3 separate regions of the Homo sapiens genome follow, and regions 1 and 2 are each linked to region 3. The links are contacts of gene promoters, found by promoter capture Hi-C in blood cells and fetal thymus (Javierre and others, 2016). All regions are on one chromosome and are shown on one strand. Each heading gives the region's core, a stretch centred on a gene start or on the middle of the fragment in contact. The rest is flanking DNA. Distances are from core to core; before and after follow the strand shown.

What was found. The method cuts DNA at HindIII sites, captures the fragments that hold promoters and counts their contacts. A CHiCAGO score of 5 or more calls a contact.
Region 1: a contact is called between a fragment that was not itself captured here and the fragment with the promoter of PIK3R3 in region 3, in 12 of 17 cell types (total B cells, M1 macrophages, M0 macrophages and 9 more). The highest score is 12.3, in total B cells.
Region 2: a fragment that was not itself captured here is called in contact with the fragment with the promoter of PIK3R3 in region 3 in 2 of 17 cell types (M0 macrophages and endothelial precursors); the score reaches 5.4 in M0 macrophages.

Annotation. Positions count from the first base shown.
Region 1 is chr1:46,040,088-46,044,858 of GRCh38, reverse strand. P3R3URF-PIK3R3 (P3R3URF-PIK3R3 readthrough) reads left to right here. Exons shown (of 10, transcript NM_001303427.2): 10 at 988-4,719. The coding sequence ends at 1,186. PIK3R3 (phosphoinositide-3-kinase regulatory subunit 3) reads left to right here. Exons shown (of 10, transcript NM_003629.4): 10 at 988-4,719. The coding sequence ends at 1,186. Among named protein-coding and RNA genes, the nearest start is that of PIK3R3, 90 kb to the left of the region's middle. RefSeq lists enhancers at 125-968, 1,183-1,242, 969-1,813. The HindIII fragment of the contact is 1,414 bases long and covers 2,508-3,921 here.
Region 2 is chr1:46,054,662-46,059,087 of GRCh38, reverse strand. P3R3URF-PIK3R3 (P3R3URF-PIK3R3 readthrough) reads left to right here. Exons shown (of 10, transcript NM_001303427.2): 7 at 3,117-3,293. PIK3R3 (phosphoinositide-3-kinase regulatory subunit 3) reads left to right here. Exons shown (of 10, transcript NM_003629.4): 7 at 3,117-3,293. Among named protein-coding and RNA genes, the nearest start is that of PIK3R3, 76 kb to the left of the region's middle. The HindIII fragment of the contact is 3,547 bases long and covers 1-3,207 here.
Region 3 is chr1:46,129,470-46,134,456 of GRCh38, reverse strand. PIK3R3 (phosphoinositide-3-kinase regulatory subunit 3) reads left to right here and starts at 1,828. Exons shown (of 10, transcript NM_003629.4): 1 at 1,828-2,610. The coding sequence starts at 2,505. The region is part of intron 1 of P3R3URF-PIK3R3 (P3R3URF-PIK3R3 readthrough); the gene reads left to right. LOC101929626 (a long non-coding RNA gene) reads right to left here and starts at 1,086. Exons shown (of 3, transcript NR_125987.1): 1 at 1,067-1,086. RefSeq lists enhancers at 1,046-1,275, 2,516-2,565. The HindIII fragment of the contact is 2,525 bases long and covers 508-3,032 here.

The DNA.
Region 1 (4,771 bases), core at 1,965-4,464, 91 kb after region 3:
AAACCCACATTTTTCTATTGCACCAGGCTTTTTTCATTTCACCAAATATCCACAATGAATAGAACCACTGTGAAATAAGTATTATTAGTAGGCTGTGCACATGTGGAAGCATTAATTTTAGTGGAGAAAGAGCGGATTGGGAGGTTTTGTGGAAAAGGTATCTGAGATGGACCTCAAAAAGATGAATGGGATGTCTTATGGGCAGAAAATGGGGGAGGAGTTGAAAAGTGCATTGGATTACTGTTATCCAAGGATAGAACTACTTGCAACATTTCATTTCTCCTTGACTTGGGCTGTTGAAGTTATCTGAGTGGAAATGTAGGCGAGAATGGTTCTTGTAAGACTTAGGATCTTCTAAGAATAATAAAAAGAAGGAAGGCAGTAAGCCCAGTCGCTCACTGTCACTCAGGTTATTGGGTGGCAGCCTGTAGGTTCAGGACTTGGCTGCAGTCCTTACATAAACTGATTAATCAAAAACTACCCTTGGCTGGGCGTGGTGGCTCACACCTGTAATCCCAGCATTTTAATAGGCTAAGGCAGGAGGATTCCTTGAGCCCAGGAGTTCACGACCAGCCTGGGCAACATAGCAAGACCCCATTTCTACTAAAAATAAAAAAGTAGCTGGGCATGTGGCTCACACCTGTAGTCCCGGCTACTTGGGAAGCTGTGGTGGGAGGATCACTTGAGCCCAGGAGTTCAAGGCTGCAGTGAGCTGTAATCAAGCCACTGTACCCTAGCTTTCGTGATAGAGCGAGACCCTGTCTAAAAAAAAAAAAAAGAAATAAATAAACCCTTACATTTGTGGTTGTTTTAACACCCGTATCTGTGGCCAAGTCTGTAGGGAATGGGAACGCAATTTCACAAGCTTTGCCTGGTTAACAAAAAACACTTGTTTGCATAACAATTGCTCTCAGACTTCTGGCCATTTAGTGTCCTTTTATCTATTGTTACCTACCTTAACATTTCTTCTGTGGTTTGTCATTGCAGGGCCGATGGGGAAGTGAAGCACTGTGTGATCTACAGCACTGCTCGGGGCTATGGCTTTGCAGAGCCCTACAACCTGTACAGCTCTCTGAAGGAGCTAGTGCTCCATTACCAGCAGACATCCTTGGTTCAGCACAACGACTCCCTCAACGTCAGGCTTGCCTACCCTGTTCATGCACAGATGCCCTCGCTTTGCAGATAAAGAGGAAGTGGGAAGAGAGGTGGTTCTCTGGCATTTTTTTCTACAGTTTTTATTAGACTACGATGAGGGCATTCTTTCTACATAGACTGCTTGTTTTGCACAAGAAGTGATTTTGTGAATGTGAAGTGGAGAGGCCGAGCAGCAGCCGGCCGGGATGGGGGCATTAGAGGCCTGAGGTTCTCTAGGACTCAGCCATGCCGCTGCACTGACATACTAAGCTGGAAGCAGATGTTTTTTTTGAAAGTCTGTTTCATTGGGGTTTTTGTTTTGTTTAGCCAGACACCCTCAACAGAATATTAGGCTTGATGGTTATAGCGGGTGGGGTTGTATTTGGAAGCCTCTGAAGAGACCATGTCTTTTTAAAATCTAACTCTTGAGAGTGCAGCAGGGGCATGGCTCTGCTGGGAGTTGTGTTTTGCTTTGGCAGTCTCTCTTCCCCCCACGAAGAAGGCTGTTTAGGTTTTGTGATAGAATGGGATTTGATGAAAAAGACAACCAAAGGAAAATGGGGAGGCTTGGGATTTCATTTAAATAATCTAAGCCAAGATGATAAAAAAAACCTTCAACTGAAGGTATTTTGTTTCTTACCAACATAATTTAGGCTTCAGCATCTCACCAGCCCCTCCCTCTGAAGAAGTATTATGTTCAGAAGCCAACAAAACAGTTTGTTGCCAGACCAATGTTTGATGGGAAAACGTGGCACTCATAGTTGAATGTATACTTCTGTACCAAAACTTGAACATAAAAAGACTAGAATTTGTGAGTTTTAGCAAACGCTAAAATTGATCACTGTAACTAACCCCTTCTGTCCTTCCTGCCTGTTTCTCTGAGATGAGGAATAGCATTCTTTTTGTGGGGATGGTGAGCTTTGAATCATAAAATGAAGTTGGTGCTTGTATGGTGTTTCCTTAGCCTAAAGAATGATCTGTTGTTTGAAACCTTTGTAACTTGTTTGTATGAGTAAAGAAAAGGTGCAATGCAGTGCTTTTAGATGGCTTGATATACCAAATAACAATATAGAACAACATTATTATATGTGCTTCCCCAAGTTTAAAGGCCCTGCAGAAATAGTAAACATGGTTTAATTTCCCTTCATTTCCCCCTCCTTTGCTGGATGGGGTTTTGGGAGCTATAGGTTGCTAAGGAGGGGAGTCAGATTGTGGTCAGGTGCCTCAGTAAATCACAGACCCAGGGGCCCTGTGGTCCAGGGTGAGAGTCACACCACATTACACATGTGCTTCCATACAGTGGTTTCTGAAGCTTTTGCAGGGAGAGAAGATGGCTTAGTGTTTAGACTGTTAGTAGAAGCCATCTGGAAGCTTTTCTCTTTGCCTTTTTTTGTGATCCTGCCATTAAGGCTATGTGCAGTCTGCCCTCCTGCTCCAGTGGCCTTGATTTTAGGCCAGGAATCTTCTGCTCCATGTGGCTTAAGCCTTCCAGCTGAGTGAAGCTAGGCAAATGGAGTGGGGGCAGGCATCTATTCCTGCCCCCATCATGCCCCACACCCATCAGTCAACACTCATTTGACAAATAGAGTCCAGCTGCCTCTGAGCCAATCCTGGGACCATAATAGGCTCAGAGTGAGTCAGCTGTTTGAACCCAAAGCTGTGCAGTCAGGCACCCTGGCTGAGCTAGAGAAGCCAGTACCTGCATCTTGGTTTATAAGGCTTACAGCTAGGAAAGCTCTAGTTCTGGGGGTGAAAGAAAAATATTAGTTTACCTGAGCACTTATTTCCATGACAGGGTCTAAAATATGGACCATGATGTAGACACAGATTTTTAATTTTGGAAAAACCTCCAGTTACTAGTGACGAGGATAGAAAGGGAAGTGCTTCTCTTTGGCTTTTTCTTGGTTACACTGCAGTTTCAGGATTGGGTGAGACAGAGACAAATGAACCCCCCTCTAAAGTCATTTAACTAATAGCCAGCACATCCCTTCCCCAAACTGTCAATTGAAATCTTAACTGAAAGTTTTACTGAATAATACCAAGCTAATTGCTGTTGGGCACACCTGGATGGCTTTGCACCTGGTGTTGAACCTGCTGAAGCAGGTGGATGCTCAAGATTACGTGCAAGGAATCCCTCCCATCTGGTACTAAAATTTCAGTGTGTTCTGAGTGTCTTTTAAACCAAAATGGAAATACAGATACAGGGCTGTAGTATTCAGTAATGTGTCTGCTCCTTGTTGGGCAGACACCAGCGGTGTGCAGGGAGAGACCAAGTACCATCTTTATCTACACTTGGGCTGGCTTGTGGAGAAGGGCTGCTTTTTTTCAGTCCTACATTCCTTCATTTTTTTTTTCATTCTTGAATTCATTGTTTTGTGGGATCTAAGACCCAGGGGTCATTTGAGAGGTTTGACAGTATCTTTTCTGACCAGTTGCCACATGACTTGCTTGACCCTGAGCCTGTGGAAATGGCATAGGGACCAGTCTACTACCCACTGGGCCTGGTGTGTAGAGGGGGAGAGGGTAGCAAGGTGCTTCTCTACGCCCATGACTTGGGAGCAGGTCTTGGCCTCCTTCATGAGAGTCTAGTGCCATGTCCTGTCCCATGATCTGGACCCTGGGACTGTCTTGGCATCTTAACTGCAGTTTCAATGAGGCAGAGGGCAAAGAGAGACCAAGATCAGAGGGGTTCATTATACCCCTGGCTAGAGAACCCAGCTACTGACATGCAAGCAGCTTGGGGCTGGCTGGACACAGGTACTAGGCCCATTGTTTCCAGGTGAAGCTTTCATCACAGAACAGTGTTGTCTCCACCTGGCCTTAGATGGCACGCCATGATTCGGGCCTGGATAGACTGCCTGCGTCCTTACCACTGATCTGGCCAAGAATGAGGCCCTCCCAACACTTTCACTCCCTCTCCAAGCCTTGATGGGACCTCCACTTATTTAGGCCTCATGTGCTTTGAAGAAGCTTTGAGAGCCAATGTGTCTTCCACGGGTCTCTTTTTTGCTACAAGTAATCAGCCCCATGTGTTCTCTTAAACTGAGAATTGCACCTGGGCAATTCCTGTTTTCTAAGGTGGTCTCTGCTGCTATTTAACAACCCAGAGTAGGCCTCTGTGAGGCTTCAGTGGCCTCAGAAACCAGAGGGTCCAGATAGGGGGCCTGCTTGGGCCCTCTGCTGCCAACTGCTCAAACCTGCTTTAGCTCCAGCCACTTGTGGCAAACAACCTCGTTTCCTTACAAATTCCAGCATGTGACTTTGGTGCCGTTACTTGTGAAAAATCTATTCTGTTGTCTTTGATGTGTCCAAGAAAATTCGTGTAGTTTACGTAAAAATATCTGACTCACAAGAAAGCCAACTGTATGTCTTGTGATGGGACAGTTCATAATGTAGTTGCTAGACCACTTTACAAATTGTTCTTGTCACCAGATGTGTTCAGACATTGCTGTGCAATTGTTGGGGAGGGTAGGGGGAAAGGCGAGAGGAGATACTTATTGGTCTTTTTGTTTAATACCTTCCCCAAGAGGGGACAGTCTGGCCAACTTGCTCCAGTAATGCAATAAAGACATTGCAATAAAGTAATTTTTTGTCTTCATGCTATGAAGGGGTGGGCTGGGGGCAGAGTGGGGGTCAA
Region 2 (4,426 bases), core at 185-2,684, 75 kb after region 3:
ATCAGATCTCGTGAAACTTACTCACTACAATGAGAACAGTAGTGGGGAAACCGCCTCCATGATTCAGTTGTTTCACCTTGGTCCCTCCCACAGCATGTGGGAATTATGGGAGTACAATTCAAGAGGAGATTCGGGTGGGGACACAGCCAAACCATATTATTCTGCCCCTGGCCCCTCCCAAATCCTTTATCTTTACATTTCAGAACCAATCATGCATTCCCAACAGTCCCCCAAAGTCTTAACTCATTTCAGCATTAACTCAAAAGTCCACAGTCCAAAGTCTCATCTGAGACAAGGCAAGTCTCTTCTGCCTATAAGCCTGTAAAATCAAAAGCAAGCTAGTTATTTCCTAGATACAGTGGGGGTACAGACATTGGGTAAATACACCTGTTCCAAATGGAAGAAATTGGCCAGAACAAAGGGGCTACAGGGTCCATGCAAGTCTGAAATCCAGCAGGACAGTCAAATCTTAAAGCTCCAAAATGGTCTCCTTTGACTCCATGTCTCACATCCAGGACATGCTGACGCAAGAGATGGGTTCCCATGGTCTGGGGCAGCTCCGCCCCTGTGGCTTTGCAGGGTACAGCCTCCCTCCTGGCTGCTTTCACAGGGTGGCCTTGAGTGTCTGCGGCTTTTCCAGGCACACGGTGTAAGCTGTCAATGAATCTACAATTCTGGGGTCTGGAGGACAGTGGCCTTCTTCTCACAGTGCCACTAGGCGGTGCCCCAGTAGGAACTCTGTGTGGCGGCTTCGACCCCGCATTTCCCTTCCACACTGCCCCAGCAGAGGTTCTCCATGAGAGCCCCGCCCCTGCAGCAAACTTCTGCCTGGGCATCCAGGTGTTTCCATACGTCTGAAATCTAGGTGGAGGTTCCCAATTCTTGACTTCTGTGCACCTGCAGGCTCAATGCCACATGGAAGCTGCCAAGACTTGGGGCTTGTACCATCTGAATCCATGGCCTGAGCCCTATGTTGGCCCCTTTCAGCCATGGCTGGAGTGGCTAGGACGCAGGGCACCAAGTCTCTAGGCTGCACACAGCTCAGGGACCCTGGGCCCAGCTCACGAAACTCCTTTTTCCTCTAGGCCTCCAGGGCTTGATGGGAGGGGCTGCCTTGAAGACCTCTGACATGCCCTGAAGACATTTCCCCCATTGTCTTGGGGATTAACTTTTGGCTTTTTGTTACTTATGCAAATTTCTGCAGCCGGCTTGAATTTCTCCTCAGAAAATGGAATTTTATTTTCTATTGCATTGTCAGGCTGCAAATTTTTCAAACTTTTATGCTGTTTCTCTTTTAAAACTGAATGCTTTTAAGAGCACCCACGTCACCTCTTGAATGCTTTGCTGCTTAGAAATTTCTTCCGCCAGATATCCTAAATCATCTCCCTCAAGTTCAAAGTTCCACAAATCTCTAGGGCAGGGGCAAAATGCTATCAATCTCTTTGCTAAAACGTAACAAGAGTCACCTTTGCTCCAGTTCACAACAAGTTCCTCATCTCCATCTGAGACCACCTCAGCCTGGACCTTATTGTCCATATGACTATCAGCATTTTGGGCAAAGCCATTCAACACTAGGAAGTTCCAAACTTTCCCACATTTTCCTGTCTTCTTCTGAGCCCTCCAAACTGTTCCAACCTCTGCCTGTTACCCAGTTTTAAGGTCACTTCCCCATTTTCGGGTATCTTTTCAGCAGTGCCCCATTCTACTAGTACTAATTTACTAAATTAGTCCGTTTTCATGCTGCTGATAAGGAAATACCCAAGACAGGGCAATTTACAAAAGGAAGAGGCTTAATTAGGCTTACAGTTCCACGTGGCTTGGGAAGCCTCACAATCATGGTGGAAGGCAAGGAGAGGAGCAAGTCCCGTCTTACATGGATGGCAGCAGGCAAAGAGAGAATGAGGAAGATGCAAAAGCAGAAACCCCTGATAAAACCATCAGATCTTGTGAGACCTATTCACTACCACGAGAACAGTATGGGGGAACCGCCCCCATGATTCAGTTATCTATTCCCGGGTCCTTCCTACAACATGTGGGAATTATGGGAGTACAATTCAAGATGAGATTTGGGTGAGGGCACAGCCAAACCATATCACCATTTTAAACAGATGAGGAAATGAAGGCACTGAGAAGTTAAATAACTTGCCCATGGCCCCACAGCAAGTGACAGCAGAGATTCAGATGTAGGTAGGCTAATTGCAAAACCATTGTTCTTAACTGTTGTGTTATGCTACCTCTGGAATATCAAATGTATAGCTTTACTTGTTCAGTCATTGCTGGATTCAGGGCCCAAACAAGGTTATTGGGATTCTCTCTCATGTTGTATTTTGGCTCAGTTTTTCTCTGGGTTGATTTTATCCTCAGGCAGGCATTGCCGGTGAAGTGACAGTATAGCTGCTGGGATGAGAACTGCATATTCATAATTTAGCAATTTGTGTGGAAAGAGAGAATTTATTTTAACAATACAGTTCTAGCAAATGTTCTAGAATTGACTCTCATTGGGTCAGTTTGAGTTTTATTCCTATTCCTGAACCGTCACTGTGGCCTGAGGGTAGGGATGGGATAGAGTGGAATATTCTTATTGGCCAGTCTGGGCCATGTGTGTTTCCATCCCTGGATCTGAGACGGGGGAATGAATCCTTACCTCCAGGGAACATCAGGGTGCTAATACCAGAAATGGGAATGGATATGGGCCAGGCAAAAACAAATGTTCACCACGCTTAAGATATTAGGACCTCACTGGGTGCAATGGCTCACGCCTGTAATCCCAGTACTTTGGGAGACTGAGGCAGGCAGATCACCTGAGGTTAGAAGTTTGAGACCAGCCTGGTCAACATGGCAAAACCCCATCTCTACTAAAAATACAAAAATTAGCCGGGTGTGGTGGCATGCGCCTGTAATCCCAGCTACTGGGGAGGCTGAGGCAGGAGAATTGCTTGAACCCGGGAGGCGGAGGTTGCAGTGAGCCGAGATCATGCCACTACACTCCAGCCTGGGTGACAGAGCGAGACTCAATCTCAAGGGAAAAAAAAAAAGGATATTAGGACCGTGCTCACCCAGTAGGATCTGTCTGCTTGATTTCTATTTTAGCCTTAACATGTCAAATATTTTTACAGAATTATGATGAATTATGATAAATTGAAATCACGTCTGGGTGAGATTCATGATAGCAAAATGCGTCTAGAGCAGGATTTGAAGAATCAAGCTTTGGACAACCGAGAAATAGATAAAAAAATGAATAGCATCAAACCTGACCTGATCCAGCTGCGAAAGATCCGAGATCAACACCTTGTGTAAGTAGTCTGGGAGTGTATGGGGAGGGAGACGTTAGTGCCAGGTTACTACCAGCACTAGAGACACTAGAGGTGGAAGAAGAGATTAGAGATTTGTAATTGAGAATTGGCCAGTAAGATGGTAAGAATTTAGGAAAGTGTCCTTGGTAGTTGTAGGGGGTACCAGAGTTAATCTGAAGTTAATATGTGGAGCAAACCAGAATGTAGGACTCTTGATCCATACAAATGCCTTGGAAATCTCAGAGGCTGGCTGTGGCATGAGTAAAATGCTATATCTTAACAAGAACAGATTAATGTTTGCCTAAAACATAAAAATCAGAATCTTTGTTTACATACTAGAACTGAGTGGGGAATTTCTATTTCCTCTGAGGGGAAGTAGGTTCTAGGCTGGGCACTGTGGCTTACGCCTGTAACCCCAGCACTTTGGGAGGCCGAGGTAGGCAGATCATCTGAGGTCCGGAGTTCGAGACACCAGCCTGGCCAACATAGTGAAACTCCGTTTCTACTAAAAATACAAAATTAGCTGGGCGTGGTGGCACATTCTTGTAATCCCAGCTACTCAGGAGGCTGAGGCAGGAGAATCACTTGAACCCTGGAGGCGGAGGTTGCAGTGAGCCGAGATCACGCCACTGCACTCCATGCCTGGGTGACAGAGTGAGACTCCATCTGGGAAAAAAAAAAAAAAAAAGATGGTGAAACCCTGTCTGTACTAAAAATACAAAAAATTAGCTGGGCATAGTGGTGGGCGCCTGTAATCCCAGCTACTTGGGAGGCTGAGGTAGGAGAATCGCTTGAACCTGGGAGGCAGAGGTTGCAGTGAGCCGAGATCGTGCCACTGCACTCCAGCCTGGGCAACAGAGTGAGTCTCAAAAACAACAACAAAAACAAAATGACATTCTTTATTTAAATAACAGAAATGTATCTATAGAAGGCACTTGAGGTAATTTGAGTAGTGAAACCTAATTCTTTAGTATGAGGGAAAACTATATAATTTAGCCAAATATAGGCATAATAGAGATAATATACAAATATAAATGGAAAGATAGTATCAGAATAAAATGTGTGAATTATATTTTTAGAAACATAAATAACTGCTTCATAGGACAGAATGCATGAGAAAGGAAGATCCTGGA
Region 3 (4,987 bases), core at 579-3,078:
ATAATAAGAAAGCATATAAGAATCCTGGTGTCTTTTCTTAGCTCAACCATGTCCATCCATACTTTCTGGCCCTTTTAAACCAGTTACTCTATACCCAGTCCATATACATTTTGACTGTCTGCCCTCAGGAACTGTCTCAACTCAGGGCATCTTTAAGGAAGGCAGAACCACCTTAGGAGGTAGAGGGTGAAACGTGGCAACTCTTCCATAGGCGAATCAATATAGCAGACATGCTCAAGGTAGGAGGTTTTGCTAGGGCTTAAATCAGGCTGTCAACTCAAACACAATGGGCTTTGTTACTCCTGTGTAAAGAGGAAATGGAGCAGTTTTTGGCCTCCTCAGACTGTATTGTAGGGTATACAGGATGGCAATTCCAGGCACAATCTTCAGGAGACACAAATCTGCTTTTAGCTATTCAGTGTTCCCCAGCAAGTTAATTAGCTGTTTCTGAAATGCATGGAAATATTCAGCATTTTCATAGTGAAGCCAATCTCCCAGATTTAAGCTTTGGGGGTGGGAATGAGTATGTGAGGAAGAGGGTCTGTCAGGGAAACAGAATAGAGCCCTTTTGGTGAGAGATTCCAACACCTGTGACTTATCTTAGAAATTACACATGCACTGTAATTCCAAGACTTTTTTTTTTTTTAATTGGTTTGAGCACTCGAGCAGGAGGGCTTGCTGAGACCTCTCACTATTTTAGGCGTGGGGAGTTACCTCTGGGTTCAAAAGTCTTTGGGTGGGAAGCACAGAGGAACTGCGAAATGCCTCCCTCAGAAATGTCCAATTGCTCAAGGGGAGAAGCAGGGAGTGGGGTCAGGTAGCAGCCAGGAAGGTTGCAGGGGCCACGGGCACATCCTCTCCCTGAGTGGTAAGGTGGCAAGTGGGTTTGGGGACCATTGCTTTGACAACTTGTCAAGGGTGCGGAGAGGGCTGTCCCAGCAAGGTGAAGAGGTCTGTAGGAAAGGAGTCTCCCCAGAGACCTCCTAAGGACCAGAAGAGCGCGCACCCCGCCAAGTGACAGAACGTGCCCCCTCTGTGTCCGCTCCCTTCCCCCGCGGCCAATCACCGGGCAGAGGCGTCTCACGCCAGCAGGTCCTCCCTGGCTCCTCTCCTTACTCGTCCGGGCGGACCAAGCCTCAGCAGGAGCCCCGCCTGTCTCCAGGCAGTTTGAGCCCCCGAGCGCTCGCCCAGCCTGTCAGTAACCGCCGTTTGCGTTTTCTTCCTTTCTTTCTTTCTTTTTTTTCCTCCTCTTTTCTTTTCCCCTTCTGCCTTTGTCCCGCTTAGTAACTGGGCTCTGACCAATCGCCGCCTTACCGGCCGGCGCCGGCTGTCTCCTGATTGGCCCGCTTGGGGCGCGCAGCCGTCTCCCGCTCCTTCGCAGGAGCAAGGCAGACAAAAGACGCAGGCTCCAGGCTCCGGCAACCGGCCTCAGCCAATCACCACCCACCTTGCCTCTCTTCCCTCGCCCCACTCCCTCCTCGCCTGGCTCGCGTGCTCCCGGCACTGACTCCTGGAGTGCGGCCAGCGCCCGGATCGTACCATTCTGATTGAGGCTGGGGGAGAGCGCGGATGGCTGATTGGGGAGCCGAAGCCTAGAGAGCGGTGGGGAGACGTGAAAGTCGAGATGGAGAGCAGCTTTTTGAACATGTTCTCAGGCACTTGACAGAATCCCGGTACATCGAGGCGGGACGGCGTGGAAGGGGCGGTGGTGATGCCTGCTGTCCCCCCTCCCGGCGCGGTTGGGTGGCGCCTCAGCGGGTGGGCAGCATGGGGCGGGGAGGGTGTCCCCTCCGCGCCGTTAAAATGAAACTCTAGTGGCTGGAGTCCGGGCAGAGCTTGAGGGCAGTTGGTGCGGTCGGGTTGGTTCTTACACCCCGGCGGGAGCGCCCAGACAAGCCGAGCTGACTGGACTTCTCCGGCCGGCCCCATTCCCGAGGCTGCGGCAGCTTCGGTTCCGAGACCGACCGGAGAGGAGCCCGAGTCCCGGCCTCTGGGGGATTCGCTCTCTGCAGACCAGTGGGACCCCGAAACTTGAACGCAATCTCCAGCCCCCTTTTTTGCCTTCCTTTGTCACTTGCCCGGGTTTCTCCCAACGTGTTCTTTTTTTTCCTCTTCATTCTCCCTCCTTCGAAGGACACAAAAGTGGCTTCCGCGGAAAGATTTGGAGGCGGTGGGAGCTTTTCTCCCCGGAGAGCGACTGTGTAGAAAGGATTTTTGGGAAGCCGCTTTTTAACACCTCTGCTCTCCGTCCCCCAAGCCTCTGTGTAATCCTCTGAGGAGAAAAGCCCATAGCTTGAAAGTTCGGGGGCATTTTGTTGTGTTCTGTAGGAGAGAGGGGGAGGACCCTGTTCGGGTAGTTTGGCCGGACTGGTACTGGCCGTTGGAAAACCCGAAGTACATTTCCGTGTGGAACTTTTGCAGATATATATTTTTAGATTTTTAAATACCAGATAAAAAATATATGCCTTCTATATATCTCCTGGCGACCTGCCCCTGACAGCGCGATGTACAATACGGTGTGGAGTATGGACCGCGATGACGCAGACTGGAGGGAGGTGATGATGCCCTATTCGACAGAACTGATATTTTATATTGAAATGGATCCTCCAGGTACTTGGGAGAAAAAAAAAAAGAATCTCGTGATGGGTCTGATTTGTATTTACCAAGAGCTTGCTGATGTTTTCAGGGCAGAAGTATTCCTGGGTGCGCTAGGTTCGGGATGAGGAGATTTGCAGTTACAGCTGCGGTAAAACTGCTTCTGGTTTACACGTTTAAAGTTTGCAGTTAGGACCCTGATCCTATTGTCCTGCGAAGGTGGGGGTGGGGGCTGGAAGTGGGGGTGGGAGGAGAGACCCCTTTTTAAAATTATCATTATTTTTTACTTTGCCTTTGCGTGTCGTTCAGGTTTTTCTTGTGCCCGCCACTTTATTTTATTTTTTTCTTTTTCAATTAAAGACTCTTCTACCTGCAAAGGATGTTTTATATCCCGGGGTTAAAACCAGTCTTTCACTTTGGGCGAATTCTTGAAAGCTTGTCCTTTCATACATTTGTCTAATTTGGTTCGTTGTGTTTTACCCCGGTTAACTTCTGAAACTGAGTTATGTGATTATTCATTGTAAGACTCCCTTTTTCTCTTGCAGAAACAAATGCCGGTTAGTGATTTTTTTTAGGGATTGGGCGTTCGTATTCAGCCATGGTCTTAGTCTGAGGTTTTCCTTCTCAGAAGATAGTCGCTCAGAGAAATCTACGTGCAATATTTTATTACTCTTTAATTTAATGATGATTTAACTTAATTTATGGGATAGGGTTTAATGTAACTTCAATTCCTAGAATAAAGAAAAAGCAAAAACAAAAACGAGGGAACCTTTCTGTTTCCTGTGAACGTGTGATATATACATATGTGTTCCTATACACGTAATGTAAAGTATACATATATAGCACTATATTTTTATTTTAAAGCTCTGTCTGACGCTATTACAGACATTTTGTGTATCTGGTAGGAAAGGAAAAGGAAAGCAAAATGGAAAAGTTGGCTTTTTTTTCCTTTAAAGTCTACCCCATTTTATGATTATTAGCTGTCAGATTTTCTCAAACCCTGTTTGCAGTTACAGATGGTGTTTTATGTAATGATTCTGAATAAGTAGAGAGCCTTTGTGACTCCTTGTTTCTGTCGAGGATGAATTCTTTATGTATTTTAAAACGTGTTATGGCTAAGTCTACAGAATAAAATGTGTGTCATTGGGGAACCTCGTTTATTATAAGACTGTATTTTTGGAAACGTTTGAAAGGATTTGAGCCATGCAAGTGTGAAGAAGTGTAACTGTCTTATAGAAGGTATGTAGAAATTGTTTCCTGTGTCCTTGCAAACGGTGAATTATCCTGTTTTTTTTTTCAATTAGTCAGTGTTAAATGGTGCTGTACTAAAAACTAGTATTGAATAAACCTTTTTCACTCTTGATGATCACTTAGAATTTTTTTCTTTTCCTTTATTTCAGAGCTTTATTTGCTTTTATAATTGTGACTGCAATCCAGATGCAGCTTTTCAGTGTTTTGTAAAGTTTGTAAGATTTGCCACCCATCTATTGTGTCTTTCCCCCTTTGTTTCCCCCTAACGGTAAAGCATGTTAGATACATTTGTCATACATATGAATAGAAATTTAGTACATCACTGGTACTTTTATTGTAAAAAGTAAGGTTAATAATTCTAGATTCCTGTTATAAGAATTATATATTCAAACTGCCTTAGAATTATACTGCATTATATAGTACCTTGCCTTGCAGACATACAAAGGGAATTTGTTGGGTGGGAGGTGAGTAGGGAGGAGGGGAGAAAATGAAGAATGCACTTATGGTTGAAATATATTAGCCTAGTAGAAAAATACTGGTCAAGTTGAGTTGAGTTGTCCAAAAATAATTTTAAGAAAAGTTGACTGTTATAACTATATGGAGACGTGGGTCTTATAAGGTTGTATAGAAAATTCTGATCCAAACTTTATTTTCCATGGAAATAAACATTTGAGTTTAAAATGTTCATCCTTGAATGAAATTGTGCATACTGAGATTCTATTGAGAATACTGAAAAATACATATGCTGTTCTTTATTACCCCTTTTGTAGCTTTAATGTAGAATATGGTTAGTTATTCCTAACAGCTTTTTGAAAACGAAGCACACTTGAGTATGCTGAAACATTGCCTATGAAGTGAATGGTTTTTCATGGAAATAGTGTGAATGTCAACCTTGTTTTATGTGATAAATTAAGTTTTCAAAACATTTAAAACTGTATCATTAGTGAAGTGGTTGCAGCATGTTTTGTAGGTTTTTCCTAGCTCCCACCCCACATCAAGCTCTTATTATTTCCTTCCTGGACTGCTGTGATAGCGTACTAACTGCTCTCCCATTTCTATCCTGTTCAAGCCACGGTAATGTTAAGAGTATCATCTGATGATTTATCTTACAATGATAAATCTTCCAATGGGTTTAAAAACC